Regions from separate parts of the Homo sapiens genome. Here region 2 is linked to region 1. Evidence: promoter capture Hi-C in 16 types of primary human blood cells and fetal thymus (Javierre and others, 2016). All regions are on one chromosome and are shown on one strand. Each heading gives the region's core, a stretch centred on a gene start or on the middle of the fragment in contact. The rest is flanking DNA. Distances are from core to core; before and after follow the strand shown. Region 1 holds the start of WSB2 (WD repeat and SOCS box containing 2). Region 2 has its middle 4.0 kb from the start of TCP11L2.

Region 1 (7,504 bases), core at 3,285-5,784:
AATCCCAACACTTTGGGAGGCCGAGGCAGGCAGGTCACTTGGGGCCAGGAGTTCAAGACCAGCCTGGCCAACGTGGTGAAACCCCGTCTCTACTTAAAATACAAAAATTAGCCGGGCATAGTGGCGGGCGCCTGTAGTCGCAGCTACTCGGGAGGCTGAGGCAGGAGAATCACTTGAACCCGGGAGGTGCAGGTTGCAGTGAGCCAAGATTGCACCACTGTACTCCAGCCTGGGTGACAGAGCAAGACTCTGTCCCCAAAAAATAAAAAATAAATAAAGCCCCTTAAACTCTGATGATGCTTATGCCAAACATTTCACATGAAATGCTTCTTAAACACAAGCCCTACTCAGAATTCACACTCTATTTCTGTGATTTAGGGATTTAATCTCTTGCTATTTCAGGTTCAGGAATCCAGGAGCTAAAAGAAGAACAAACCCAGTGACTCCTGTCTCTTGGAGTCTGGGCCCAAACTAAACTTGGCTACACGGAGAGAAAGCCCTAATTAGTGCAGAACTTAAAAACAAAACAAACAAACAAAAACAGAGCTGGGGGTGGGGTATCTAGCTTCAACTGGTATGGTACTTGTAGATCCTTCTTGGTGAAAAGGCCTATGAATCAGGGTTTCTTTGTTTTCTCCTTTTTTTTTTGAGACAGAGTCTCACTCTGCTGCCCAGGCTGGAGTGCAGTGGCGCCATCTCGGCTCATTGCAACCTCCGCCCCCTGGGTTCAAGTGATTCTCCTGCCTCAGCCTCCCGAGTAGCTAGAATTACAGGCATGCGCCACCACACCTGGCTAATTTTTGTATTTTTAGTAGAGATGGGGTTTCACCATTTTGGCCAGGCTGGTCTCGAACTCCTGACCTCAGGTGATCTGCCCACCTCGGCCTCCCAAAGTGCTGGGATTGCAGGCGTGAGTCACCGCGTCCAGCCTCTTCTTTTTTAAACTGATAAATAAAAATTGTATATATTATGGAATATAACATGTTTTGATATATGTATACATTGTGGAATGGCTCAGTCAAGCTCATTACCATATATGCATTACCTCACATACTTATTTTTGTGTGGTGAGAACACTTAAAATCTACTCTTAGCAAATTTCAAGTATATCATATTCATATATATATTTGGGTTTTTTTTTTTTTTGAGACCCAGGCTGGGGTGCAGTGGCTGAATCACAGCTCACTGCAGCCTCAATCTCCCACCCAGATTCAAGTGATCCTCCCGCCTCAGCCTCCTGTGTATCGGGCTACGGGGGCGTACCACCACACTCAGCATTTTTTTTTTTTTTAAATTAAATTTTTAGTAGAGATGGGGGTCTGGCTATGTTGACCAAGCTGGTTTTGATCTCCTGAGCTCAAGCGATTCTCCTGCAGGCATGAGCCATTGCACCTGGCCCTGGATCAGGGTGTTCTAATTAAACAATGGGATGTGTTTGGACAATCAGGCTGAATGGAAAGGTATATATTATAAGCCTCTTCTAGGCAAAGCAGTTAGCCTTAACACAGAGATGAAAGCTATGACCCCAGCCAGCAGGAAGCTAGGTGATTTTTCCTGTATCAGGACATGTACATTAGATATTCCACCGGCCTCAAAAGCTTTCCTCAGTTGCTCCATCTTATCATTCAGGGATTGGTCCTCATGTCACCTTCTCAGAGACCATCCTGGCCTCACTATCTAAAGCGACCATACACTTTCCTTTTTTATTTTTTATTTTTTTTGAGACAGGGTCTTGCTCTGTTGCCCAGGCTGGAATGCAGTAGCACCATCACGGCTCACTGCAACCTCGACCTCCCCAGGCTCAGATGATCCTCCCATCTCAGCCTCCCCAGTAGCTGGGACTACAGGCACATTCTACCATGCACGCGCCTATAGTTCGGTATTTTTTGCAGAGATGGGGTTTTGCCATGCTGCCTAGACTGGTCTCAAACTCCTGAGCTCAAGTGATCTACCCAAGTTGGCCTCCCAAACTGCTGGGCCACTGCGCCTGGCACCATTCACTTTCCTTTAACCATTTGATTTTCTTTATAACCATCACTTAGATATTTTCTTCTTCTTTTTTTTTTTTTGAGATGGAGTTTCACTCTTGTTGCCCAGGCTGGAGTGCAATGGCGAGATCTTGGTTCACTGCAACCTCCACCTCTCCAGTTCAAGCGGTTCTCCTGCCTCAGCCTCCTGAGTAGCTGGGATTACAGGTATGCACCACCACGCCTGGTTAATTTTGTATTTTTAGTAGAGACGGAGTTTCATTATGTTGGTGAGGCTGGTCTCGAACTCCTGGCCTCAAGTGATCTGCCCGCCTCAGCCTCCCAAAGTGCTGAGATTACAGACGTGAGCCACCCCGGCGCATTTGGTTGATATTTTCTTGATTGCCTGTCATTTTTACGTATTTATTGTCTGTCTCTTTCTGAACCCACCCAAACTTGCCAGTTCACTGCTATTGGGCTACACTGTCTAATAGGGAAATCACATGTGGTTACCAACCACTTGAAATGTGGCAAGTCAGAATTCAGATGGGCTGTAAGTAAAAAATACACAACACGTTTTGAACACTTAGCACAAAAAAAAATCTAAAACATTACATTACAATTTATTTGATTACATGTAGCAGGAATATTTTAGACATGTTGTATTGAAAGAGTTTTTAAATTGTCACCTAGTTCTTTTTTCTTTTTTTTAATGTGGCTACTTGAACATTTTAAATTACATACGTGGCTCACATTAGACTTCTGTTGGTCGGGGCTGGCCTAGAGGGTGCCTGGCACATAGTAGACGTTCAACAAATATTTGCTGAATGAATAAGTGAAGTCTAACCATTGCTCTGAAGATTTCAACTGTTGCCCATTGTATTTCCTTTACAATGGGCTTTATTCCATTTGAAAATAAGTTAAAACTCTGGCCTTTTTTGTACAGTAACTTGGCAGCTCTCAACAACCCTGCCCACACCCTCAAAACGAAGTTGTCAATCTTTAGGAAAACCCCAGAACTGGAAACAGATTTCTGTTAAAAAGGCAGGCTAGCTACAGATTGCTTTCAGATTGAACTGTAAGGAGGCAATGGAAATCAAACGGAAGCTATAAAAAGATTCACATAGGATCTACACAAACAGTAGGGGCCCTTTTAAAAAGAATTCTACGGGTAACACTCACTGAAAAGAAAGCCCTTATCTAGATGGGAAGGAGAGAGAGCTGCCTTTAACTCAATGCCTGACTTCAGCAAACAAAGAAATGTCATTTCCTAAATTAAAAAGTAACACCACCCCAGGGAATACCCAGATTTCAACCTTCCCACCCACAGTAACAAGCCATCAGCAATCAGAACCCTCCAGACCAGGATGAAGCTTGAACTTGGCTGCAAGATTACCATGAAGTTCTGGAACAAATTCTGAGCCCTAGGCCTTGAACCTGCTCTGAAAATTTCTCCTAAGGAAATTACATTTAAACTCGGGTCCTTCAAGACCTGGGACTCCCGGAATCAATTCTAAATCTATCCCAAGTGGGGTTCCGAGGGAAGGTCGTTGGAGGGGAGAGGGCCAAGGCGTGCATGCGTCTTGGGGTTTTTTTCCCCTTGCATAAGAGACACACCTTTCCCACTGAGATTTTATGTTCATCTGGGCTGGCTTGAGGTATATCCAATATCCTCTGACTTCCACGCTGTCTTCTGATGGGGATGGCAGTTAACAAGAATAGAGGCAAGGTCCCCACCCATCAGTGTATCCTAAATTTGCCTGATCATACATGTCACCAGGGATCAGCGTCTCCAGTCCCGCCCCACCTCCACTGACTTAATCTCCAGTGGGAGAGGCTGGGAATAGATTGTTTCAATAGGGAACCCAGACCCCAGACCCCATTTTTACCGGGTCCCAGCCACCCTCCGAGGAAGGTACTAGGATTATCCCATTTTGCAGATCAAAACTGAGACGTGGGTGGCGGTGGTTCAGTGGCTTGTCCACTGTCACGATCACACAGCTTGTGAGGGACAGAGGTGACTCCCATCCAGACATGCAAGTGCGTCCCCTGGCACCTGGGTACCCAGGGGCACCCACCCCCTTGGGGATCTCCGTTTTAGGGCTTGGTGCCCCCCGCCCCGAGTCCCACCCGGGAGCCCCCTCTGTCCCGGTCGGGGGATCTCCTCCCGCAGAAGCCCGATCTTCCCGATCCTGTCGCCGGCGGGAGTCAGGGTGGCGGCCACTGACAACGAAAGTGAAACAAAGCTGGTCGCCGGGCGCGCACCCCCGCCGGCCCCGCGCGGACCTCCCAGGCCGGACGCCCCCGCCGCGTCCAGCCCCCGCCCCACCCCGCCCAGCCCGCCCCGGGGTCGCCTCCCCCCTCCCCGGGGAGAACGGGCCAGGGCCCCGCCGGGCGGGAACGGGCGCGCCCGGCCCCACTCACCTCCGGCCTCCATGGAGGACGCGAGCGGCCCCCGCGGCAGGCGGCGGGCGCCTCAGCCCCCCGGGCCGCGGGCCCTCATGCCGCCCCCGCGCCGCCCGCCCCGGCCAGGCCGCCGCCGCCGCCCGGAGAGGCCATCAGCTGCTTCCCGTCACATGGCGGTGGGCGCGGGCGGAGACGCGCGGGGGCGGGGCGCAGGGGAAACGGAGGGGGGGTGCGGACGGGATAAAAACGGTGGGGGGCAGCTGAGGGAAAAGATGGAAAATCGGGGAGGCGGTACGCTGACGGGATAAAAGCTGAGGGGTTGCTCAGGGGAAACGGGGGCGGGGAAGACGCGCGAACCAGATAAAAATGGGGCAGGGGTGGGGGGAGCTGAGCGGAAACGGGGTGGGGCGCGAACGGGATAAAACCCAGGGGTTGTGCGGGGTCCTGAGGGGAACCAGCGCCGGATAAAAACGGGGAAGGGAGGGAGGTGAACAGAGCTGAGGGAAACCGGGAAAAGGGGAGCGATAGAAACCGGAGTAGGGGAAGCCGGGCTCAGGGGAAAAGGGGGTGTTGGAGAGTGGTAGAGCCGGGCTGAGAGAAAAACCAAGCAGGGGAAGCGGCGATCCGGGGAGAACGGAGAGAGGGAGACCGAGGGCTGTGGGGGTAAGGGGAACCAAAGGGGCTGAAGCGAAATCGAGGGGAGGGGCAGGTGAAAATGGAGCCATGCGAAGGCCGATGAGGGGGGAAACGGGTAAAAATGGGGGCGGGAGAAATAGGTTGGAGGGAATACTGGCCGAGAAGAAACCTGGGGAGAGCTGGGCTTAGGGGAAAATGGGGAGGGGGTGGAAGGAAGGTGTAATAACCGGGTGCTGGGGAGGACGTAAGAATTGGGGGGTGCGGCGAGGGTCAAGGCTAGGGTAAAACAAGGGGGGCTACTCAATGGCTCCGGTAATGGGAGAGGGAAGTGAGGAGAACACGGGGCGGTGGGGAGAGGAGGGCAGGGTGAAAACCGGAGTGGGGGTGGGAACGAGATAAAAAACGGGGCAGGAGCGATTCGGAAGAAGACTGTCCCCTTACCTACCTACGGCGACAGCCTCGCCTGTCCCCGTCCCCCTGAGAAACCTGCTCTCCCTGTCTACCCGCATAGCCTCAAGAAATGGCTCGCTTGGGTCAGACGCCCCCTTTTTAACATTCCAGGGCCAGGGCAGGAGTCATCATGGAGGCTTTTCATGCCTGAAAGACCCCATTTCTTAGTTGTCCGGTCCCCAGTAGTATCAGTGGCTTGGGGATTTCTTACTGAGCTCAGCTCATTGTCCCCAAAATGCCTCCCCTTACCCCCAACTCGAGCGCTTCCCTTTCCTGCTTTGGGCCCAAGCTCTTCCCGCGGTTCTTGGTGTCAGCTTCATTCAAGTCACTCTCCCGCCTCTCATTCCTTTCTCCCCGCCTTTCTTCGCTTCCCTCCAAGTGCCCTCTCCATTTGCCGGTCACTGGTCCCAGAGCTCCGGATCGCAGTGGTTCCATTTTAAATTTCTTTGCTTCCTAACGCAACCTATGTTTTCTACGGTAACTGAGGTTCCCGTGTTCTTTTTCACCATGGTCTCTCCGTTTTAATGTTTCGGGTTTTTTTACCCAGGCCCCTGTTTTATGAGCCCTGGGTACGTCCTTCCTGTGTCCCGTTTGGCCTCCTGGGTTACACTCCTGTTCACCCCGCTTGGCCGGTTTTTTTTTTTCTTTTCTTTGAACCTGCCGGTTTCTCAGTCTCCCCCTTTTCCGCTGGCTACCTGTCCCTTTCTCGCCGCCCATGTTAACTTTAGCATGCCCCGTTCTCTCTCTTCATTTTCCACTGGGTATTTTTTATGTTTCCCAATTTTAAAAACGGCCCAGCGCACCCCTTTTTTTGGGACTCCACTTTTATCTCTGGCACCAGTGTCGGCCTCCTCCACCTCTGCTCCCATTTAATCGCTAATTTCCTGCCTCCTGAGGACCCCCGTTTTATTGTCCAGGCTCCCCCCTCCCATTTTTCTCTTCTCTAATTTTCTGAGTCTCCATTTTTTGTCTCCCAAATTCCTTCGATTCCTGGAGTCTTACAGGCCTCGTTTTTATGTACACGTCATGGAAAAGAATAAAAGGGTAAGGTCGCGGGGCGCGATGGCTCATGCCTGTAATCCCAGCACTTTGGGAGGCCAAGGCGGGCAGATCACCTGAGGTCAGGAGTTCGAGACCAGCCTGGCCGATATGGCCAAACCCAATCTCTACTAAAAATACAAAAATTAGCTGGGTGTGGTGGCGGGCACCTGTAAACCCGGCTACTCGGGAGACTGAGGCAGGAGAATCACTTGAACCCAGGAGGTGGAGGTTGCAGTGAGCTGAGATCTTGCCATTGCACACCAGCCTGGGTGATGGAGGCTCCGTCTGGAGGAAAAAAAAAAAAAAAAAACAAAAAAGGCGGGGCTGAGGTGAGAAGAATATTGTTACCAATTTTTAAAAAGCTAGTAAAAAAAATTTTTTTTGGCAAGTTCGTTTTTCCAAGTCTTTCAATTTACTAACCAGGTCTCAATCAAGATCACAAAAGCACTTACTTAAAAATAGCTTTATTCCATTATCTTTTAAAAAAGGCATATGATAACCTCAGAACTAATTTCTCCCAACCTCCCCCCACCACATCTTAAAATGTAAATAATGGAGAAGGAGCTGCTTATTTTTCTTTGCAGCAGTTCCTGGCCAGTCCCAACGTGAGAAATATCAGTTGGCACTTATTGCATCATAATACATTTTGCCTAGTAAGGATGATTTTCTAAGTCTCAGTGCATGGGTTATTGCAATTTTCCATCTTGTGTTTTCCTGCGGCAATTATGGGGCTTGTATGTGCTTGTGAGAATTGGGGCTAATATCAAAGCCACAGAATTGTGGAGGCCCCCTTCCCAGGCTCCACCAGGGTTTGAGAAAAACAAGAAAAAAGTCAGTTGCAATGGACCTGAAGTGTGTATCTTCCTGGTCCTGATAAATAGATCTCATGGTCTCTAAGTTAACAATACATGCAGATAAGATTTTTTTTAAAGCACAGTGTAACAACTTGGACTTTGCCACACAAACTGTAATCCACTGTCAACAAGCTTGTGGATTTGGGCATG
Region 2 (7,504 bases), core at 4,415-6,914, about 12 Mb before region 1:
ACCAGAGGGTCTTGGTAGCTCATGGAATTAGCTATCGAGTGACTCTAACATATTTTAGACTGAAGAACCAAGCTTGGGAAAGAACTAAAGGAAGCCAGGCATAGCTAAGAACATGCTAAGGATGCCATAGCTGGTGTCATCAGCATTGGGCACCACCACTGTAGCTCTGTGAATCACCCCTATCTACCTGTGGTGGTCAGCATCTGACAGAACATGCGTAGGTCCCATGCCCATGCTACAGCCACCAGGGTCTGGGAAGACAGAATGCCTTTCCAGCTCCAGTAGTAAAGTATTAATGGGATTAGCATATCATCCCCTCTCTGGCTTCTATAATAAATGATAACAATTCAAATACCATTCGGAAAGCTGGATCACCAAAATGACAAATGGCCCCCACAACATTATTATCCCCATTTTATACCTGTGAGGATAAGGACATATGTATAATGAGTGGTGGAACTTGGCTGTCAACCCTCTGGTCTGTCTGAACCCAAAGCCCACCCTCTTTCCACCATACCACATTTCCTCATTATATACAATTATTTTGTACCTCAGTTGATTAATTCTTTGAAAATTTTGATCTACGTAATGCTTGTAACTTTTAAAAAGTCATTTTTTTAAACGTCCACATATCATCACAGAGGTCTTCCTTTAAATAAAGAATTCAGCTTCAGCATTAAAATTAAATTTATTTGTATAATTATGTTACACCGAGCATTTTTTTTTTTTTAGACTGAGTTTCACTCTGCCACCCAGGCAAAAGTGTAGTGGCGTGATCTTGGCTCACTGCAGCCTCTGCCTCCTGGGTTCAAGTGATTCTCCTGCCTCAGCCTCCCAAATAGCTGGGACTACAGGAGTGCGCCACCACGCCCAGCTAATTTTTTGTATTTTTAATAGAGACGGGGTTTCACCATGCTGACCAGGCTGGTCTTGAACTCCTGACCTCAGTTGATCCGCCCACCTCGGCCTCCCAAAATGCTGGGATTACAGGAATGAGCCACTGCGCCCAGCCTATACTGAGCTTTGTGGGAATTTACTGATAATATACATGCAGATGTACATGTAACATAAACAATGGCATGGCTTGGGATCCCTCTGAGGGAATTGGCCAGAAATGTTTCGTGTGTGCATGTGTGCGGGTGAATATATATCTATGTAAACAGCTTCATATTTTTGTATAAAGCTGCATTCCATTCTTGCTTTCTAGAAGGCACAGCCACCCCAGTATCTGGTCCAGGCACCCTTCTAGAGTAATGGAATGTGATTATAAATACTTTGGGCACTTAGTTGGTACAGAGCTGGTATGCTTGTTGATATGTTGTTATGGAAATTAGATAATTATGCCAATAGGTAATACTTTGCATGTGACACTGCACGTGTATATGTGTGTATTTGCGGAGAGAAGCCATGAAGTGAGTTCTTCTGGTTTCTATTCTTGACCTGCCAACTGAGTGAGTCACTGCTGAGTATCCCTTTAGTCAACATAAACCCTTAGTGCCCTAGTATATGACCTTCCTCTAGAATGCCCAGGAACTCAGGTAAAAGCTACTATTCAGGCATTTGAATGTTCAGAGCTCTCAATTTTTTTGTCTTCAAAATGTACGGCTGGGTGTGGTGGCTGATGCCTGTAATCCCAGCACTTTGGGAGGCCAAGGGGTGGATCACTTGAGGTCAGGAGTTCGAGACCAGCCTAGCCAACATGGTGAAACCCCATCTCTACTAAAAATACAAAATATTAGCCAGGCGTGATGGCACACATCTGTGATTCCAGCTACTCAGGAGGCTAAGGCAAAAGAATCGCCTGAGCTCGGGAGGCAGAGGTTGCAGTGAGCCGAGATCATGCCACTGAACTCCAATCTGGCTGACAGAGTGAGACTCTGTCTCAAAAAAAAGAAACAACAAAAAAAAGGTAGTATAATTATTAAAGTCCCATATAACTTTGAGAAAGGACATTTGTCCAGTTTATCATCAAAGAAAGGGAAGGTTTTAGAGGTCAGAGTTTGGGGCAAAAAACATGTTTAAAATGAAAGCAAACTCCATGCACTTTGGCTATCGAAGAATAGGGCTTGAGGAGAAGAACTTAAAAAGTAAAGATCAATATTCCCCCACCCAGCATTAATAATTTTGACATATCATAGTGAGGGACTTTTTGTAAATCTATTCTTTCATATATTTTACATGAAAAGCTCCATTTGTTGTCATGGCTTTCTTAAATATGAATAAAAAAGAGATGGGAAATTTGCTTATTGTGCAGTATCAATAGCCTATCTTCACTAAGGTATATTTAGGAGGACATACAATAATAAGAATAGTTGCATTGTATGGCAGTGTGAAATAGACTAGTAATATATGAATGACATTCTCATTGTAAAAGAAATAAGCTGCTTGAATGTGTACGGAATAAACCAGGAACTAACTTGCCTAAATAGCCTTCTAAACGGTTGAGATTCTTTTTAGTCCATTTCTATGTATTTCATATACACACAATGCATATGTACTGTCTCTAGTGTAAGCTCTCTCTAGCATAAATCGTGTCACCCCATAATCAGTGTTCTGTAACTCATGTTTTCATGTTGAATCGTGTACCTAAAAAGTCACATTTCTTAATCCTTCCTTTATGTTTTCTGGAGATTGCATCTTATTTTAGTAGCTCTTCCTCATGCCCATTTGACAATTTCATTTGATTTTAAAACTGAGGGCCTGTGTTCATCCATGAACACTTTAGAAAAGCAATCATTTAGAAAATGGTTGATTGCCTGCTGGCCTGGAGATGAGCTAAAGAGAGTGACTGGCTTGGTCAGAGGTCTGAGCCATCACCTGTTTGGCCTCCCATAGGTGTTCCTTTGAGCTTCAACTCTCTTTGGCCCCTCCCACTTCCTGCCCCAAAGTTGTCTTCACTGCTGGTTCTCACTCTTTCTGCTTCCCAGGGGACAACAGTGGTGCCCAGGTAAGAGGAAGGGGCCCAGGGTGGGGTGTAGGGAGCACTAAGAATATTTGTCTTTTTAGTATGTGACAGGGTCAGGGACTGGGCAGTGCCTAAATGTGAAGGTACAGGCAATTGAAATGAGAAATAACTGTTAATTTTTTTACTAATTCAGTTCAGTGGAGTCAAAAGAAAACTGGTTTTGGTGCTTTGGAAAATTGTTCAAGCATCAATTAATAGTCAAAACTGGTCAATTATCTAAATCTACCTTATCTTCCAAATCACAGGATATAGAACAAAAAAAAATTGCCTAAAAGGTGTGGTTAATTTTTTTTAATAGACCTTATTTTTAGAGCTCACAGTAAAATTGAGTAGGAGGTATGCAGTTAATTTTTGAACATTCAGGGCCTAATTCTCTAGTTGGTGTATTAGCCAAATTCATTTTCTTCTTTTTGCTTTCTATTGTATTTTCCCCCTCACTGATTTTTGGCCCTTTCTGTAGCACCTGAAGATGGACAGGGGAGAGAAAAGAAGTGGGATTCCTTTGAAAAACATTTTTTTTAATTTAATTTTTAGTTTAAAATTTTTTTTGAGACAAAGTCTCGCTCTGTTGCCCAGGCTGGAGTGCAGTGGTGAAATCTCAGCTCACTGCAACCTCCGCCCCCCAGGTTCAAGCAATTCTCCTGCCTCAGCCTCCCAAGTAGCTGGGATTACAGGTGTGTGCCACCACGCCCAACTAATTTTTTGTATTTTTAGTAGAGATGAGGTTTTGCCATGTTGGTCAGGCTGGTCTCAAACTCCTGACCTCAAGTTATCCACCTGCCTCGGCCTCCCAAACTGCTGGGATTATAGGTGTGAACCACCATGCCCGGCCATTTTTTTTTGTGAGACCAGGTTTCACTCTTGTTGCCCAGGCCGGAGTGCAATGGTGCAATCCTGGCTCACTGCAACCTCTGCCTCCTGGGTTCAAGTGATTCTCCTGCCTCAGCCTCCCAAGTATTTGGGATTAGAGGTATGCACACCATGCCTGGCTAATTTTTTGTATTTAGTAGAGACAGGGTTTCACTATGTTGGTCAGGCTGGTCTCGAACTCATGACTTCAGGTGATCCACCCACCTCAGCCTCCCAAAGTGCTGAGATTACAGGCCTGAGCCACCATGCCCAGCCCATTTTTTTGCTTTTTGTTTTTGTTTTTTTCAATTACAATGGAGTCACATCTTACAGGAGGGGTTAGGCTCTTAAGGAAGACCATGAGGTCAAAGTGCAGTGAAAATTACTCTTGAAAATTTTTTAATGAGCCATAAGACCTGGGATACACCAAGTTTTTGTCGTTTTTTGTTTGTTTGGGGCTATTTCTTTTCTTCCAGCATTGAAACAGACATAAGTTTCTTCAAGTGAGCACTGGTTGAAATAATTGATTGGCACTTAGGGGCAGGAAGATAAGCACCTTTAACCACTAGACTCATATTCTGTGTGGGGAGATCAGGACCAGTTACATAATTTGCCAGGTCCAGTGCAAAATGAAAATGCAAGGCCCCCTTTCAAAAAGCACAGTATTAAGAATCTCAACACAACAGCAGCAATGTATTAAACCAAGCACAGGGCTCTTCCAAGGGTGGGGCCTTGTGCAACTGCCCAGACTGCACGAACATGAAGCCAGCCGTGGGAAAGAAGCTTGGAACATAATGAGAAGCTCAGAAACTCAGATAAACACAGTAAGAGAAGCCTCACAACTCCCATAGAGAGAAATAGGGGACAAGATCACTGGAAGTATTTAAATTATTCTCTTGTGTTCCTCATATTCTGTCCTAGATGAGTCCCGTATAGCTAAATTTGCATTACATTAAATCAGTACAATATGCAACTCCACTAGAAAAGTTATAAGGCTGAGAGGTTGCAAATCCAACTGTAATTACATTTTTAGATTTTTGTCAATGATTTATTATAATTTAAAACTCAGATTTCAGATGTGTAAAAAGAAAATGAGTATTTCTATTTCTTCATCGAACAAAAATTTTGATCTGCCCTTAGTCTTTTGCCAAGAGTGATAGACCACATTTAGTCTACCGTGTAATTTACAGGGAGAAAAAAAAACTGTATTACTGTGAGTTCTCTAAGTGGTTCAAAAAGGTAAGTTAGAAAAACTAGGTGTAATAATATGTCTTCTTCAAATAAAATGCTAATTATTTTACTTCTAAAGAGGTTGCCTTTTCAGATTTTGTTGTTTTTTTTTTTTCCTCAGAAAGCCATAAACATAACCTGAGCAGGGAAGATTTTGTGTTATGACTGTCTGAGCCCTCTGAGCAACAATGTGATACAAGGCTCATTTTTGAGGGAACTGCCTTATATTTTACAGCACTCCATTTTTTCAAAGTGTTGTTTTTGTTTTGTTTTGTTTTGAGATGGAGTCTCGCTCTGTCGCCCAGGCCGGAGTAAAGTGGCGTGATCTCGGCTCACTGCAACCTCCACCTCCCAGGTTCAAGCGATTCTCCTGCCTCAGCTTCCAGAGTAGCTGGGATTACAGGTGCGTGCCACCACGCCCAGCTAATTTTTTTGTATTTTTAGTAGAGACGGGGTTTCACCGTGTTAGCCAGGATGGTCTCGATCTCCTGACCTTGTGATCCACCTGCCTCGGCCTCCCAAAGTGCTTGGATTACAGGCATGAGCCACCGTGCCTGGCCCAAAGTGCTTTTATACACAAGTCAGGCCAAGGGCAGTTGGTCAGGTAATTCACAGAAGGGTTTTCAGATAGCAAGTTATTTAACATTAAAGTAACAGAAGATAGTATTTCCAGCATCTTTTCTTATCTCAGCTTGGTTCTCTGATGTTACAGTTGAACTTGCTTTGACAAAAGCTGCTTTCCTGGTGGCTTTGAGAGCTACATATCTGAACTTTAAAAGAAGTGTCATGCCTAGGATCAGGCAGCTGGTCACTCCAGTATAAAGGACAACTACCCTGACTCATGGTCACCTGCTCCAACTTATGTCATAGCTCAAAACAATACTTAAATCCTTACAAAGCTAACAAAGGAAGTAATGTTGCCATGTGTCATTGTCACAGAATTACCAGAAGTTTGGGGGATTTGGGTGTTCATCTTTCTATTGTGGAGTTTTTAGGGTGGTGATGGCAGTTGTGTGGTGGTTGTCATTTGGCAGGAATTGAAATTGGAGGCTTCTGTCATTCTGATTACTTATCCAACGAATGACACAAATAAGAGCATGTTTGTAGGGAAGAACTCAGGTGGGGACAGCACCTTCTATTTAATCTCTTAACCTGTATTATTAGGTTGTATATTTTAGGAGAAGAGAGGAAAGTGGCAAAAGGAGGCACAGATACAAATTTATACAGATCACCAGCTAAGTTTGGCCACAGTGGTTTGCCAAAGAATTTCAATAACTAATACTTAGAGTGCTTACTGTGCACCCTGCTAAGCACTTCACATGCTTTATTTCACTTTATCCTCAAAATAACCCAAGGAAATAGCTATCATTGTTATCCCCAGAGACCAAGATCTCATGGATAGTGAATGTCAGAGCCAGGACTGGAACCATAGAGGAGTCTGTGTTGTAACCACTGAACAACTGACTTTCTACCCTGCTTTAAAATGTTGCCTGTTGTTTGTTGTTGTTGTTTTTGAACGGTGGTGGCCAATCTGCCTCCACAATCCAGACATAATTTCGGCACTAAACAGAAATACTTTAGTCTATACAAACTTCATGTAAGTAGTTCCTGCATGAAACTATTTCCCAAGTAATACAGCACCGATTTACACCTGGCAGAAGGCATAGTTTTGATGTGAACAGTTGGGGGAAGCTTGTTTCTCTACACCCTCAAGCACGCCCACAGCAGGAGCTGAGCAGCAGGCCAGACGGCACAGAGCCCTCCTGGGACTGGTTATTTACATTAACCAAGGTGGAAACTTCTCCCGGAGATAGGTGCTGCCAAGAACCCTAGAGGAAGTAAGACGCTTTATCTTTTGCACGCACGCCAAGTCTTCAGAGGGCCTGGATGGGTGTGACTCCAAGGAGCTAATCGTCCCGTGCAGGTGCAAATCTAGACCCGTGTTTATGTGGAGGTGTAGACGCAACTGGAGATGACCCGGTTAGTGGCTGACGTGCGTGGGAAAGCCCACCAGCAGCGTTGTTGGTTGGGTTGTCTCTGTAAGTGTGGACAGTGTGTTGGTGGGCACCCAGTTCCGATTGCCCCGTCTAGACAGGGGTGTGCGGGCACTCAATGTTCCACGCGCGGCCGGGAGCTCGCAGTGTGGTCCACGCCAGTGCGCCTGGAAGCCCAGGGGATCTGTCCGGCACTCCACTGGAGGCTTGGCCCGCGGCTTCGCCCACCTCCCCAGAGCCCCGCTCAGCCCCCGCTCCCCCCGCTCAGCCCCCGCTCAGCCCCCGCTCAGCCCCCGCTCAGCCCCCGCTCAGCCCCCGCTCAGCCCCCGCTCAGCCCCCGCTCAGCCCCCGCTCCCCCACTCGGCCCCGCCCCCAGTGCCCTGGCAGGCCCCGCCCCCAACGCCGGGCGCTCCCGTCGGCTCGGCGGCCTCAGTTCCGTAAACACTTCTCACCCCGCCCCCGGCAG

The links. Contacts are between HindIII fragments. The CHiCAGO score rates a contact against its expected background, and 5 or more counts as called.
Region 2: a fragment that was not itself captured here is called in contact with the fragment with the promoter of WSB2 in region 1 in 1 of 17 cell types (activated CD4 T cells); the score reaches 5.6 in activated CD4 T cells.

The regions. Positions count from the first base shown.
Region 1 is chr12:118,056,645-118,064,148 of GRCh38, forward strand. WSB2 (WD repeat and SOCS box containing 2) reads right to left here and starts at 4,535. Exons shown (of 9, transcript NM_018639.5): 1 at 4,392-4,535. The coding sequence starts at 4,404. LOC124903030 (a long non-coding RNA gene) reads left to right here and starts at 4,816. Exons shown (of 2, transcript XR_007063479.1): 1 at 4,816-5,036. VSIG10 (V-set and immunoglobulin domain containing 10) reads right to left here. Exons shown (of 9, transcript NM_019086.6): 9 at 6,949-7,504. RefSeq lists a silencer at 3,945-3,994. The HindIII fragment of the contact is 4,146 bases long and covers 3,339-7,484 here.
Region 2 is chr12:106,295,026-106,302,529 of GRCh38, forward strand. It overlaps a transcript of TCP11L2 not described here. Among named protein-coding and RNA genes, the nearest start is that of TCP11L2, 4.0 kb to the right of the region's middle. RefSeq lists a silencer at 7,346-7,465 and an enhancer at 7,486-7,504. The HindIII fragment of the contact is 2,139 bases long and covers 4,596-6,734 here.